Regions from separate parts of the Homo sapiens genome. Here region 2 is linked to region 1. The links are contacts of gene promoters, found by promoter capture Hi-C in blood cells and fetal thymus (Javierre and others, 2016). All regions are on one chromosome and are shown on one strand. The core of a region is centred on a gene start or on the middle of the fragment in contact, and the rest is flanking DNA. Distances in the headings are between cores, read along the strand shown.

Region 1 (7,628 bases), core at 1,497-3,996:
GCCAAATGAAGAATATATTAAAACATACAATATCCTATGTGTACCTGACACATAGAAAGTGCTCAGACAAGCAAAATGCTGGTGCTGGTGAAGCACAGATAAGTAAGTCAGTATCTATCTCTAAGCAATTTGTGAAGCATATGTTCTGAGGAAGGCATTGAACTAACCAGCCATTCTTCATTCTAAGCATGACTGGAGAAGGTTGGAAACAGATGAGAGGGTCTTTGAGGCCAGTGCTTCTCAAACTTTAATGTGCACACAAATCACCCAGGGATCTTGTTAAAATGCAGATTCTGATTCCATAGGTCTGGAGCAAAGCTGCAGAGCCTCTAACAAGCTCCCAGGTGATCCTGATGCTGCTGTCTGTAGGCCACGCTTTTGGGCAGCAAGGTCCTGAGCCTGCAATGTTATTTCCCCACCGAAAATGTACGGTCATTCATTTATTCGGACACCAGCTGTCAAGTGCTGCCAGGCTAAGTGCTAAGGATAAATAAAACAGATACATAAACAGAACTCTCTGCTCTTAAGGAGTTCACAGTCAAGGCACTGCTGAGTTTCTCTAAATTCCACAAATCAAGGGCAATGTCCAATACAAAATGAACTCGATCAAAGACAAAACCCTTACAGAACTGTGTGCAGAGTGAGAACAGATACACAGGTTGCGCTGGAAGCAACAATAATGTTGAGATGAATACCTCTCTCTTCAAGGACTCAACAGACGACTCAAGCTACAATAAAACCGGATATTCCTGAGAAGCAGAGTGGGTGAGGGACAAAACTAGGTGTCAAGGCAACTTCAAAGCCAACAAAACCCCATGGACACGGAACCATGCCTATATATCATTTCTGGGTCCCTCTATTCAGTATGGCAATGTGCAATAAGACTTGCTAGCATTCGTGAGAGTCAGGCATAAACAAAAAGCTATATAAAAGGAGCAGTCAAGAAAGTGGTGTCTGATGAGAGAAGCAGCTAGATGGTTGTGGACATACTGAGTATGAGAGCTGAATGGAGGCAGGGTGGGGGATTTCTTATCAAGGTCCGAACCCTTTAGTTTAGGAGGAAACTAAAATCCAAAGCAACATTTGATTTGGATTGCAAGCAGCAGTTGTCAACCGGGGCAATTTTGCTCCTTCAGGGGACATTTAGCAATGTCTGAAGACATTTTTGATTGTTACAACGGATGGAGTGCTACTGGCATCCAGTGGGAAGAGGTCAGAGACGCTGTTAAAAATCCTGCAAGGCACAGGACAGCCCACTACAACCAAAAATCATCTGCCCCAAAATGTGAATGGTGCAGAGGCTGAGAAACCCTGAGTTAAGGAATTTGCCCCAGGTTAACGAATGAATGTCACACCACGGAATAGATTAGAGCAGTCCAATAGAGCATTCTGCAATGATGGAAACAGTCTATAATCTGTGCTGCCCTATATAGCAGCCAATAGCTACATGTGGCTATTGAACACTTGAAATACGGGTAGTGTGACTGAGAAACTAAAGTTTAATCTTTAATAATTTAAATTTATAATAGCTACGCACGGCCAACGGCTACTCTACTGGACAGAACAGAAATACAATTCACCTTTTCTGACTCGCAGACTGGTATTCTTCCAGTTTCACAGCCTGCTTCTTTCCAATTTTCTGAAATCACTCACTCACTTGACTTTAACACTAAAATGTGACTGGGAAAAAACCCACAAAAGTAAAATAATACTGCAGAAAAAAAAATAAATAAAACATCCCCAGTTAAACTTTCGCTGTTTTGTACATTGGGAAATAAAGTAAAATATCAGATCATTGTTACACATACATGTAACAAGACTGCAGAAGCAAGAAAGGTCAAATTATTTCTACTTCCACTTGCAGGGAAGGGTGTTATAACACAGATAAAACAAAAAACTCTCTGAGCCTTGAGATCACGAGTTTTCCGACCTGATTTCTCTACTTGGTCACTAACAATCTCCTTCACTTCTCAGAAGCTGGGTAAGAAACCAGGCTGGTCAGCATCACCTGCAAATTCTCCGGCTTCTGACTTCTCTCTCACCACAGAGACAACTCTCTGATTTGCTGGTTTGGGTGGCACCGCACCGAAGACTCACCATGTGCCATGCACTGTGCAAAGCACTACCCATACATGATGTCACTTCATTCTCACTGCAGCCCTTTGTGGCACCGGGAGGTTAAAAAGCTGGGACCAAATCACACAGCCAGTCAGGAGTAAAGCAGGGACTCCCAGATATGGCTCCCAATCTGCTCTTAAACACTGCGCTAAGGTAAGGGCCTAAAACCTGGGAAAGTAACCCTGGCTGGGAAGGCGTGAGAAGTCCCCCTGGGGAGCAGAGCAGTCAGGGGCTGCATAGCCAGGGAGGGGTCCTGGCGGCTCTTACTTCTCGATCTCCAGCGCTGCCACCTTCCGCTTTTCGTACAGCTTGTCATTGAGGGCGCGCACGATGTTAGGCGTGAGCGGCGCGAAATCCTTCTCGGGGTTCATGGTGGCAGCTGGGGGAACCTCGCGACTCCTTAGCCCGCGGCTGCCGGGGCCGCGCCGGGGCCAGGGGAGTCTGCGGCTCCGCTCTGCCCCCGGCGCCGGCGCATGGACCACGCCGCTCTAGGCTTGCCTGCCACGCTCCGCCGCCTCGCCCTGGAACCCGGGCCCGGACCCCGCTCCAGCACACCTGACCCTGGCCGCTTAACAACTCCCGCCCGGCACTAGCGGGACTCACGAGACAGCGGCCATGTTACTCGAGTCACATGACTCTACAGCACTTCCGCCTTCCGTCGCGAGGGCCCGCCCCTCTCCAGCCACGCCCCCACCGCAGGCCGCAGGTGGATTGGCCACGCCCTCGGAAGGCTCCACCCACACTGCACACACTATCGCGCTGCGCGCCAGGTAGCTGGAGTGTGGTTTGAGACGTGCTTTAATGGGTGTGTAGCTCACGCCCAACTGATGGCACGTGGTGGGCTTCTGTAGACGTTCGTAAGACCGAATGGGTTCTTGGAGTCTGATTCACTTAACATAATTTATTCAATAGTCACCGAATTCACTAGTTCATTCAGTAGTTGGTCACTTACCAATTTCCTAGATGCAGACGTTTCCCTAACTGCAGTAACACTGTCATCACTTTCACCATATTCTAGCCACTTGTATTATCTATTTAATGTTTTCCTCAAATCAACTCACTTTAAAAAATACCTTAAATCTCTTTTAGCTTTGCTTATGCCCTAAAACCATGAGTTTGAATAGGTATATTTTTTCTAAGACACATCAAAATAAATTCTCAATTAAAAATGGCACTACCTGTCTACCACCTAAGATCTCAGGTACCACCAGTGTCTGTCACTCCACCATTTGGGGGTGTGTTTAACATGCTCTGATGCCTAGGAGGGCTGGTTACAGACAGAGAGAAAGGCCCCAGATCTGCTGAGTGCGGGTCTCTAGATAGGTCCCCTGGAAAGCAGCCCCTTCAGCTGCTTCGGGAATCACATTACATGGTGAGACAGAAATCCCAACTATGTGGCAAAATATTTAAAAGCAATTTATGGCCGGAGTGTGGTAAACATGCAGTTAACAGGGAGGTGCATCAGCCTTTCCTATCATAAGCTTTCAGAGTGAACAGGGACTTAGGACAAGGGCTAGATTACAGTGGAGCTCAAAGAATAACAGTTTCAGAATGCATGGTGATACTTTTCTTTAATGAATGAAAAGTGCATATATAGGCCTTATAACAGTCTTGAAAATGGAGTATTTTCCTCAACAGAAACAGGGACGCAATGAGTAAAGGGCAAAAGTAGGCAGAATTCTAGGATGACCTCCAATATTCCCACCCCTTCGTGTTCATGCCCTGTATTATGCCCTCTTTCAGCGTGAACAAGACTTGTAAATATGATGGGCTATGCATCACTCACATGATTATATTATGTAATATCGCAGAAGAGATTTTGCAGATGTAATTAAGGTCCCTAATCAGCAGACATTGAATTAATAAAAAGAGAGATTAACTTGAGTCGGCCTGACCGAATCAAGTGAGTACTTAAAAGAGATTAGAAGAAATTTGAACTGGAAGAGAGACTCTCCTGTAAGGAGTTTAGTCATATGGCCACAAAGGAATGAATTTTGCCAACACATTGAGGGTCCTTGGAAGCAGATCTTTCCCTAGTTGAGCCTCCTGATGAGGATGCAGCTGGCCAGCACCTTGATTTCAGCCTTGTGGAACCCTGAGCTGAGAATCCAGTTCACACTGGGCTCTCAACCCATGGAAACTGTGAGATAATAAATTTGTGTTGTTTTGCTCTCCTAGTTTTGTGGTAATTTGTTATGCAGCCATAGAAAATGAATACAAAGGCTAATCCAAAACTCGGCAAGTCATGGATATATCATGTCTAGAAAAATCCATAAAAAATGTATTCTCCTATACAGGTGGGGTTTTCATAGTTGTTAAAACCTTTGCTGACACAATCCTATGAATGAAGGTAGGTGCGCTAACAAGTAGTAGTAGTGCTGCCAAGGACATCTCCAAATGTCTTGCAAAGTTTGGTTTTAGGATTTTGATGATGGTTGATGAAAAACACTGAAAAAATGTAAATCAATGGGAATGATTTGGTTCTATTTCTCCAATGTGTGTGCATTTCCACGGGACGCATATCTAATATATTTCATGTTTCTTTTGCTTTTTGGTTTGGCTTTTTCTTAGAGGTGAACTGAATTTCCCAAGGGTAATGATACAGTTTTTAATAATTCAAACAATAAGGAATTTTTTTTTTACCAGAAGTATTCTTTTCTCCTGAAATTATATTCTGGCTCAGGTTGCTAAGTAACCAGTTTTTTATTCAAGGCCCAGACCAATGCCTACCTTTAGGTCAGAAGTTCCTAGAAAGAAGTGGTTCTTTTCTCTAATATCTTGAAAAATGCCAACTAGGTAAGATTATTTATGCATAATTGAGCTAGCAGTGGTGGTAAAAATAAAGCCCAAAGGCTACCCTTGCCTTCCACCCTTGTTCCTCTTCTCTGACCTGTGACCATTCCTGTTGAAACTCTTCTAGACTAGGGGATAACTGATGTGCCTGACTGCATACTAGTCATTATTTCACAGTTACAATTCATCTGCATCTGTGTGATGCTTGGTTGTTATGCTAGAACTTGTAATAGTTCTGTAACAACTATTCATAATAGCTATTACAAGTATGTAAAAGTTATGACATAACTTGTAGCAAGAGGCTGCTGATGACATTGTAAGAAATTGTACCAAAATCTTGAACTGTGCAAAGCAGTTTCTCCAACAGCAATGTAATTGTAGCTGGAGTTTCAGGGCAACAGGGTTTAAGGTATTAGGTAGAGGTCTTGAAATGTAGCAGGCCCTCACCAATGTTACAGTATTGTCACCTCTGACTTGAGGCTCCTAAAGAAGTGGTTAGACTTAGCATGCCACACTCACTGGGGGCCCAGTGTGGAACGAGGCCAGGGAGCCCCATTCCCATGGTATTCTGTGCACAGTGCTCCTTGGAGTTCTGCCACACAGCTACCCTGACATTTTCTGAACATCCCCCAGTTAGAAGTCTCCTGGTCTGCTTTGCTGAGAATGGATTCTCCAATGTAACTTCCACAAGCATGTGTTGGAAGGGTTATTTTCATCAAGCCTGCTGTTAAGCTACTTTGCCATTCCAAATTTGCTAATATAAGACTATTTTGTTATTGTTTGAGGCTAAGGAAGCACGAGAAAAACCTAAAGGGAAGAAATGCACCCAATCTCAAACCAGCCTGGAAGAGGGTTCACACTGGGGCAGGATCTGAGCTTGGCTCTTGGTCCCAGGGAGAAGGAACTTCCTCCTCTCTCAGGGGCTAGGAGGATTTGGACCCTAGACTCAGTGGTGTTATAGGACCAACACGTTTGTGTGCCCACTGTGCAGTAACAGACCAATGCACAGAGACAGTGGGGATGCAGCAGAGAAAGTGATGATCAAAGGTCACTGAGTGATGAGATGGGAGGAGACCCTCAAATCCATCTCCCGGAAGAGTTCTGGACTGGGGTTTTTAAGGGGATCCTGGAGGGTGAAGGGCTGAAAAACCAGGTGACTGATTGGTTGGGTAAGACGGATGAAATCATCAGGATGTGGAAACCGCATTCTTTGGTGAATCAGCTTCTCGTGAGGTCCTTCAGATCAGCTGATGTCAGTTGTTTCACTGGTACACAGGACCAAGAATAAATATCTCAAACGGAAAACTTAACGTTTCCTAATGTTCAAGTTGTTATCTCCAGAGCATTGAGGGGAACTATGATCTTTAGCAGGGTCTACGTGATTCTGAAACAGCAGGCACCAAACAGCTATGAGGAAGCAGGTCTGAGCGCAGGCTGATCTAGTGATTAATGCTGAGTGTGCTGCAACCTGGGTTCGTTTTTGTTTCTCCCCCTCCCTTCTCCCTGATCACTTTTATAAAATGTATATGGACAGCTTCAGTGGCTTGGGGAAGCACTGGAACAGGTCTGAAGTTGGGGGAGTTGCCCCTAGCCACCCCAAGGCTGGCTATAAGCCATGCTGGGGCTGGTGGCATGTTAGACAAGATTTCAGACAGCTTCTTCCACCTTTTCTTTAGTCTTAGGGATCACTTGGTGTACCACATTGACCATTATTGAAAAAGTACACCCTTTTGAAGAGTAGGGTGAGGGACCAATTGCTTCCCTTCTCCTAACCTATACCTCTGGTGAATAGGTGGAAGGAGGCACATTTTGGGGAGGGTTAATTTCATCAACTAGGTCCTATGCAGATTTGGTAAGACTTCTCAGGACTGTAATGAAAGAGTTATGGCTGTGGGTTTGGCAAATGTCAAGTTTTGCCAGGTACCTTAAAGTAGCACTCTCAGCTGCAATGTGCATGCAAATCGCCTGGAGGTCCATGAAAATGCAGATTCTGATTCAACAAGTCTAGGGTGGGGCCTGAGGGCCTGCCTTTCTAACAAATTCCCAGGTGATGCTGATGCTGCAGGTCCATAGGCCACTCCGAATAACCAGGAGGCTCGAGGCTTTAGAGTCGTGGTTCTCACAGTCTGATTGGTCTCACCAACGAGCATCACCAAGAACTGGTTAGAAATGCAGATTCTCAAGCCCCACCCAAATCTCCTAGATCGGACTTCCTGAGGGTGGGGCTCAGCAATCTGTTTCAGTAAGCCCTCCAGGGGATGCTGATGTATACTAATATTTCAGAAGCACTGACTTTATACAGATGCTGTATATTTGCAAGTCATCACTCTTGCTCATTGATCTTAGCATCCTCTCAGATTATTGGTCAGAGCGATCTTTGCTCACTTAACCATTGTGAAAATCTGTCATCTGGTTGTCTTTAGACCTATCAGTAGTGTCTTTAGAGGTTATAGAAATAAATTGTCTATTGAGTATGGCAGTCCTCCTCATCTATGGCTTCAGTTACCTGTGGTCAACTGTGGAATGAAAATATTTAATGAAAAATTCCAGAAATAAAAAATTCATACTTTTTAAATGGCATGCTGTTCTGAATAACTTGAGGAAATCTCATGCCATCCCACTCCATCCTGCTCAGGATGTGAATCATCCCCTCGTCTAGCGTATGCATGCTGTAGACACAACCTACTTGATAGTCACTGAGTAGATGACTTGGGGTT
Region 2 (7,628 bases), core at 3,499-5,998, 610 kb after region 1:
GTAAAAGTGAATCCCTGAGGTTGCCTTATTTTTCCTCCATTGAACCTCTTTCCAGTTCCCTCAGTCTCTCTCTGCCTTTGTTTTATAGTAAGAGGCTACATTTGGACCAGGTGAGCTACTGGTCACGCAGGAGTCGATCTTGCTGTCCTCCTCTGGCTGGACACTATGGCCTGGAACTGACTTCCAGCTCAGGAGTTTGAGCCCAGGAAGCTTATCCTCTGTTTTCACATGCTAGTAGTCACCCTTTTGGTCTGATTGCTGTTGAAAACCACGCAATACAACACCTGCAACTCTGTCGGAAGCCTGTGACAATCAAACTGCATTCACCCAGACTGTGTTCAGAGGCGCATATGTCTTAGAGTTTGCAAATGCATATATTCAAGTCTAAAATCTGTGTTTCAGAAAGCAACAGCCAACCAGATTTAGCAAGTCCCACCCATTTGCCGTAGGTACACCAGACCAATTTTTTAAATGAGTAAAACATTTTTTTTTTTTTTGAGACTGAGTCTCACTCCATCGCCCAGGCTGGAATGCAGTGGCACGATCTCAGCTCACTGCAACCTCTGCCTCCTGGGTTCAAGCGATTCTCGTACCTCAGCCTCCCAAGTAGCTAGAATTACAGCATGTGCCGCCATGCCCAGCTAATTTTTGTAGTTTTAGTAGAGATGGGGTTTCACTATGTTGGCTAGGCTGGTTTCAAACTCCTGACCTCGGCCTCCCAAAGTGCTGGGATTACAGGCATGAGCCACCATGTCCAGCCAAAACATTATTTTAAAGCTAAGCTCCCCACCCTCTTGCTATTCCTTTGGTTCCCCTCTCTCCCCGGGACAAACCCCATTCAACTCTAACATGCATCCCATCTCTGGATATTTCTCACTGTTACAAGGCAGTCATGTAGCCAGGACCACCGTGTCCTGATGTCTAGTGTGTTTGACAACTAACAGAAAAGGGATTTGGCGTTTTTATTTTATTTTGAGACTGAATCTCACTCTATCACCCAGGCGCAATCTTGGCTCACTGCAACCTCCACCTCCCAGAGGCTCAAGTGATTCTCCTGCCTCAGCCTCCCAAGTAGCTGGGATTCTAGGCATGCACCACCACATCCAGCTAATTTTTTGTATTTTTAGTAGAGAAGGAGTTTCACTGTGTTGGCCAGGCTGATCTCGAACTCCTGACCTCAAGTGATCCTCCCACCTCGGCCTCCCAAAGTGCTGGGATTACAGGCATGAACCATGGCGCCCGGCTGGAAAAGAGATCATCCTGTCCACAGCTGGGCCCTATTCGGGATCATCTCTTAGGAGGGCCCTAGCTCCTTTCCTGGACTGTATCTTGTCCCCATGATTGAACAAGGGTGGCTTTCAGGAAGAGGATGGGGAAAGTCCAGCCCAGAACCAGGCCCTACAGCAGAAGGCAAAAAAAAAAAAAAAAAAAAAAAAAAAAAGGTGATTCCCTTGACTCTGGCCCCCTAAGGGCAATGTGAGCCCCCCAAAACCATGAGTCCAACTCCCTGTTGTCTGGGGAGCAGCACCACAGCCCAGGATGGCTTGGGGGATGCATTGGATGAGGGAGAAGCAGGCCCACAAAGGGGAGATGAATGTGTCAAGATCACACAGCCAGGCAGGGCACAGTAGGGACTAGACCTGTGCTCAAGGTACTGGGCCATTTTGCATTTCTGAATGGGCAGCAGCATCAGAACCTTCATACTCCTCATACCACTGACGGCAGGCTCTGTGCATGGGGATATCCTTGACCCTGCACCTGGCACAGAGGGAAGCCAGCCAGCTGCGGACAGTCACGCCCTGGGGCTCTGAGCTGCTCCACTGCACCTGGGGCATCCTGCACCGGGGTGGACAGTTCCCAGTCAAGACGACGAAGACTAGGAGACCCGACCTGGGAACTCTACGTGGCGCCAGAGTGCCCCCTGCTGGCTGACCGCCAAGCAACCCAAACCTCACGTCTGCATCTAAGACTTCTCTTGACTCCCGCCCAGGAGAGCTGAGGGTTGGGTTCAGCGCCCACCTTCTCCTAGGAAGTTTCTCCTGGACCTGCTCTATCCAACCTCTATCTCAGCTGCCGACTACAGGGCCCCCTGCTGTTTCCAGTTCCTGGCCCACCCAGAGTTTTTCCTACTCATGTGGGCTACCCCCAGGACACTGGGAGCGAGGCCCTTGTTTAAGGAATCGTCTTCAGCATCACGGCAGAGGAGGAGCCCACCCATGTCAGGGTGAGTGCTGGGGTCTCAGGGAAGCCCGTCCACCATGGGCAGCGACATTATTTTCCCAATTGTTCTGCGATTCCCATCTCTCTTGGGAACAGGGCTTGCGCTCTGACTGTGAGTGAACAAGATGACCACAAGGGGGCAGCAGAGACAAAAAGCTTCGCCTGAAAACCATTTGCTAAAGTTCTCCACCCACGAGGTAAATCAGTTCCCAGTCCTGGCTGCACACTGGATTCACCTGGTGAGCTTTAAACACTACCGATGCCAAGTTCCCACCCCTACAAATGCTGAGTTAATGGCCCTGGGGTGCCATCCTAACATCTTTTTACAATCTCCCAAGGGAAACTTTAATTTAAAATGCAGAAGGCAGTGGAGGAGGGAAAGAGCGACCTTTCAGGCCATTCTTCTATCGGGCTAGGGCTGAGGATCACTGGGTTAGACCCTTGTTAATGCAAAGCGTGGCTCACGGACCACCAGCATCAAGGTCACCTGGGAGCTTGTTAGAAATAAGGACCTGCCCCAAACCTACTGAGTCAGAATCTGCAATTTAACAGATTCTCCAGAGAATTCATCTGCATATTAAAAGTCTAAGAAACTTACGGTCCTCTTTACCAAAAAGGCACTAGGGAGGTCCTGGTCCAATGCCATATGTACAGTCTGTGGATGCACAGATTAAAGCCCCGAGGCAGGAGTCCCTTTGCCCAAGGTCATTGGCCATGTATTCAGTGGGATGGCACAAACCTGAAGGCCCTGACTCCAGGACCAGTGCACCTTCTCCCACAGCACCCTGCTCCTCCAACCCAGAGGTGGGCCTGGGCACAAGAGGGCAGGAAATGGTGGCAGGAGTTTGGTGGGGTCTTTGAATTTCCCTGTTAGCACGTGTCCTGTGGGGATCCCAGGGATAGCTAAGATACCATCCCTGGCTCAAGGAACTTCTATCCTCATATCTAACTCTGGACAGACGCACTTGGTATCAGTCAAACACAACCTCTTACCTTGAGTCACGTACTAGAACCATCTCTAAATCTAGCAAAACAGAGGAGGGAGAAAAAGACTAGTTTGGATACGTAGCCTGGAAAGGTTTCCTGCAGTCCAGGCAGTGCAGGAGGAGGGTGGGTTAGGTTTCAGGGGCCAGTGGAGGAGGGGGCTGCATTTCAGACCAAAAGACCAAGATGAATGAAGGGTATAGATATACAGGAAAGGATCCACATGACCAGGGCATAGGTAAGGGCTGGGAAGTTGTGGGAGATAAAGCTGGGATGGGACAGGGGCTCGCGGCACAGACCAGACCCTAAAAGCAGGCAGAGCACTTGGCCAGGTAGAACCAATTCAGACCCTGGGCTGGAGGCCACAGAGAGCCATGGAAAGTGTTTGAGCCAGGAGAGGAGTCTGGGCCTTGGAAAGACCTTCCAGCATCAGTCCTGTCAGGTTTTGGAGATGATGCAATGAAGAGAGAGGCTACAGGAACCCTCATCCTGAGAGCTCACTGAGTACACGGATCAAGGCTCATTCATCTCAAGGTCACCAGCATTTGCCAGAGTATTAGCCCCTGGAAGGTGACCTGCAAACAACCATCTCTAAGGGAGACCAGCCTTTAACCCAAGGATGATTTCATTCTTAAGGTCCAGGCTGGGCACGGTGGCTCACGCCTGGAATCCCAACAGTTTGGGAGGCCGAGGCAGGCGGATCACTTGAGACCAGGGGTTTGAGACCAGCCTGGGCAACCTAGTGAAACCCTATCTCCACACACACAAATATATATATATATATATATATATATATATCCGAGTGTGGTGGCACATGCCTGTACTCACAGATACTTGGGGGGCTGAGGTAGAAAGATTGCTTGAGCCTGGAAGGCGGAGGTTGCAGTAAGTCAGGATCGTGCCACTGCACTTTGGGCTGTGTGACAGAGCAAGACCTCATCTCAAAAAAAGTAAAATAATTAATAAATAAATAAAACTTAAGGTCCAGAACAGGAAACGTAGGTCATACTCTTGGGACCTTGAGCTTGTTACACTGTGGGGTGGGGATGACCATAGAAATTCCCTTGTGAGATTACAGTGAGACTCACCTGTGATAATGCGTGTTACCTACCTGGCATCTAGGTGAGGCTCAATGTCATGGCAACTCCATTCTACCTGCTTTTCCCAGGGCTTCTGTGACTTTGCACCATCGTAGTAGTCTCTGGAGCCCCTTGAGATTTCCCTTCAATCTCTTCTTGCCTCCTAATTAACAGCAGCATTTATTGAATGCTTTGACCATATTAAAACACTTTGCATATGTGAACTCGTTTGGTCCTACAGTCATGCCTTGATTCATTCTCTAAATTTTTATTTATTTATTTATTTTTTGAGACAGAGTTTTGCTCTTGTTACCCAGGCTGGAGTGCAGTGGCATGATCTTGGCTCACTGCAACCTCCCCACCTTCTGGTTTCAAGCGATTCTCCTGCCTCAGCCTCCCAAGGATTACAGGCGCCCGCCACCATGCCTGGCTAATTTTTGTATTTTTAGTAGAGATGGGGTTTCACCACATTGGCCAGGCTGGTCTCAAACTCCTGACCTCATGATCCACCCGCCTTGGCCTCCCAAAATGCTGGGATTATAGGTGTGAGCCACCGCACCCGGCCCCATTCCCCAATTGAAAGATGAGAAAACTCAAGGGCAGAGCTGGCACATGAGCATAACAGGGACTTGAATCTGATTACTGGCTCAAGCACCCCTCTCCTAACTACTCTTTCTCATGGCCTCCAATGTGTGACTGACCAAGACTCTCCCCTGGCCACTCCATGACCCTCAGGCCACGATCTCCCTCCATAACTCCTTCTCTGACAGTTGAGGGGGCAAATCTCAAGTCTTTGTTCTGAGCCTTGGTCTTCTCCTTTGACCAACATAACCACATGTCCAGAGACCAGTGGGCTAGATCCACATGGACATCTGTCTTCACCTGAAACCCAACCAGCCCCAACTCTAGTCTGAGCCTTGGGCAGCTTGCCCTTGGTCCCTCCACTACAGTACTGAGTTCATTCTCTCCGGAAGTCTAGTTCATCAAGGCCCTGCTGGTTTCCACCCAGGACTGTGGGATCCTGGAGGACAGGCATCTGTCCTCAGGTGCCTCTCACAGCCCCAAGCACAGTAAGTGCTGGACTTACCTCTTCTCTAGCCAGCATCCCTCCCAATTCACCTATTTCAGCTCACAGTGCTACCCTCCATCCCTTGACCCATCCCTCTCCAACAGCTGCCTCATCCCCCAATGGTCCTCTCTGCTCAGAACCACTTTCACCTGCCTCTTAGATTGTTCACTCCCTGACATTCCACCCCACCAACTGCTCCTCCCTGCCCTCCAGCAGGCTCAGGTGAAATCCAACCCCACCCGTTTTTATTTATTTTTTGAGACAGGGTCTCCCTCTGTCATCCAGGCTGGAGTGCAGTGGCACGATCATGGCTCACTACAGCCTCAACCTCCCTGGGTCAAGTGATCCTCCCACCTCACCCCCCCACAAGTAGCTGGAACTAGAGACACGCACTACCACACCTGGCTAGTTTTTTAATTTTTTGTAGAGATGCGGTCTTATCATGTTGCCCAGGCTGGTCTCAAACTCCTGGGCTCAAGTGATCCTCCTGGTTCAGCTTCCAAAGTGCTTGGATTATAGGCATGAGCCACCGCACCCAGCCTACCCCTTGAAATTTAACCATACTCTGTCCCCATTCAAGTTAGTTTCTGTGACTTTCCCAGTGAACTGGAAACTCCTTGGGGGAAGGAACTGTGTCTACTTATTTTTGTCCCCACAACACTGTCCCAGTAACTGGCATATGTTTGAGGACCATTTTAATGTGTGTGTGAATTGTCCAAGTCTTTTCTCTTTTTTCTGTGGAGTATTTCATCCTCTGTCCCTCAATTTTTAAGAGTTCTGTATATATAAGGGAGATTAGCCCTTTGTCTGTGGTATGTGTTACAAATATTTTCTCTCAATTTTTCAGTTACTTTGGTTTCTGTGGTTTGGGTTTTTTGTTTTGTCTGGTTTGGTTTGGTTTGGTTTGCCATGTCCAATTTGCCAGAATTTTATTTCATTGCTTCTGGATTCTGAGTGATGCTTTCAAATCCTTTCCTTACACTGAGGTTAAGAGGAATTCACCCACGGACTTTTTCCCCCTAGTACTTACATGTTTTCATTTTTTACACTTAAATTCATGATCCATTTGAGTTTATTCTTATATATGCTGTGAACAATAGATCTAATTTTATCTTTTTTTAAAAAAAAAAAGACTACCCCATTATCCCAGTACCATTTATTAAAAAGTCTGGGCCAAGCACAGTGGCTCATGTCTGTAATCCCAGCACTTTGGAAGGTCAAGATGAGTGAATCACTTGAGGTCAGGAGTTTCAGACCAGCCTGGCCAACATGGGGAAACCCCATCTCTACCAGAATAAATAAATAAATAATACAAAAATTAGCCAGGTATGGTGGTGCACACCTGTAATCCCAGCTACTTGGGAGGATGCGGCACAAGAATCGCTTAAGCCCAGGAGGTGGAGGTTTCAGTGAGCTGAGATCGTGCCACTGCACTCCAGTCTGGATGACAGAGCAAGACTCCATCTCAAAAAATAAATAAATAAATAAATAAATAGTCTATCATTGCCTCTGAGATTTCACATGCCACCTTTATCATATACTAAATTCCCATTCGTACTTAGGTCTGTTCTGTACTTTCTATTCTATTCCATTGGTCTGTCTGTCTGTTCATGTGGTCAATGCCACACTGTTCTAATTACAGAGGCTTTATAGTTTGTTTTAACAGCCCATAGGGTGAGGCCCCCATTTTGGTCAGTTTTTCCCTGGCTATTTCAGCATGTTTATTTTCCATAGAAACTTTAGTATCAGCTTATCAACTCCATGAAACAAAGCTTATTGGTATTTTTATAGGAATGGCATTCAATTTATAAGTCAACTTGGGGGGAAAAGGGCATCTTGATGTTGAGTTATGATAGCCAAAAACAAGGGATGTCTTCCCACTCCACGTGCTTTAGTGTTTTCCAGAAGTGTTGTAAAATTTTCCCTTTATAGATTTTGCACATTTCTTATTAAGTTTATCCCTAAGTATTTAATCATCTTTGTTGCTACTATATGTAGTAGGGTGCTGCAGGGACCACAGCCTTTGCCACTTCCCTCTGGAGGCTGCAGCTCACCCGGAAAAAGGCTAGGGACACAGGAGACCCCCACTTCAGACTCCTCTCCTGCAGCTGCTGCCCCTCAGGCCAAGGAACAGCCCTCTCTGTTGGAAGGGAGCCCCCAGAACAGAGGCCATCCAAACCTGAGGCAGAGGGGGACCATATCCTCCTCACCAATCTAAGAGGCTTCCCCAAAGACCTCACCCCCAGCTTTTGCAGACCCAGCCTAGTGCCTGGGCT

What was found. The method cuts DNA at HindIII sites, captures the fragments that hold promoters and counts their contacts. A CHiCAGO score of 5 or more calls a contact.
Region 2: a fragment that was not itself captured here is called in contact with the fragment with the promoter of VAC14 in region 1 in 1 of 17 cell types (erythroblasts); the score reaches 5.2 in erythroblasts.

The regions. Positions count from the first base shown.
Region 1 is chr16:70,798,412-70,806,039 of GRCh38, forward strand. It overlaps VAC14 (VAC14 component of PIKFYVE complex), which reads right to left and starts at 2,747. Exons shown (of 19, transcript NM_018052.5): 1 at 2,386-2,747. The coding sequence starts at 2,489. HYDIN (HYDIN axonemal central pair apparatus protein) reads right to left here. Exons shown (of 86, transcript NM_001270974.2): 86 at 3,673-7,628. RefSeq lists enhancers at 2,433-3,055, 2,723-2,782 and a silencer at 2,453-2,642. The HindIII fragment of the contact is 5,317 bases long and covers 1-3,597 here.
Region 2 is chr16:71,410,550-71,418,177 of GRCh38, forward strand. LINC02136 (long intergenic non-protein coding RNA 2136) reads right to left here. Exons shown (of 3, transcript NR_146574.1): 2 at 4,316-4,446. Among named protein-coding and RNA genes, the nearest start is that of LINC02136, 12 kb to the right of the region's middle. RefSeq lists enhancers at 1,473-1,974, 2,048-2,137. The HindIII fragment of the contact is 4,748 bases long and covers 2,375-7,122 here.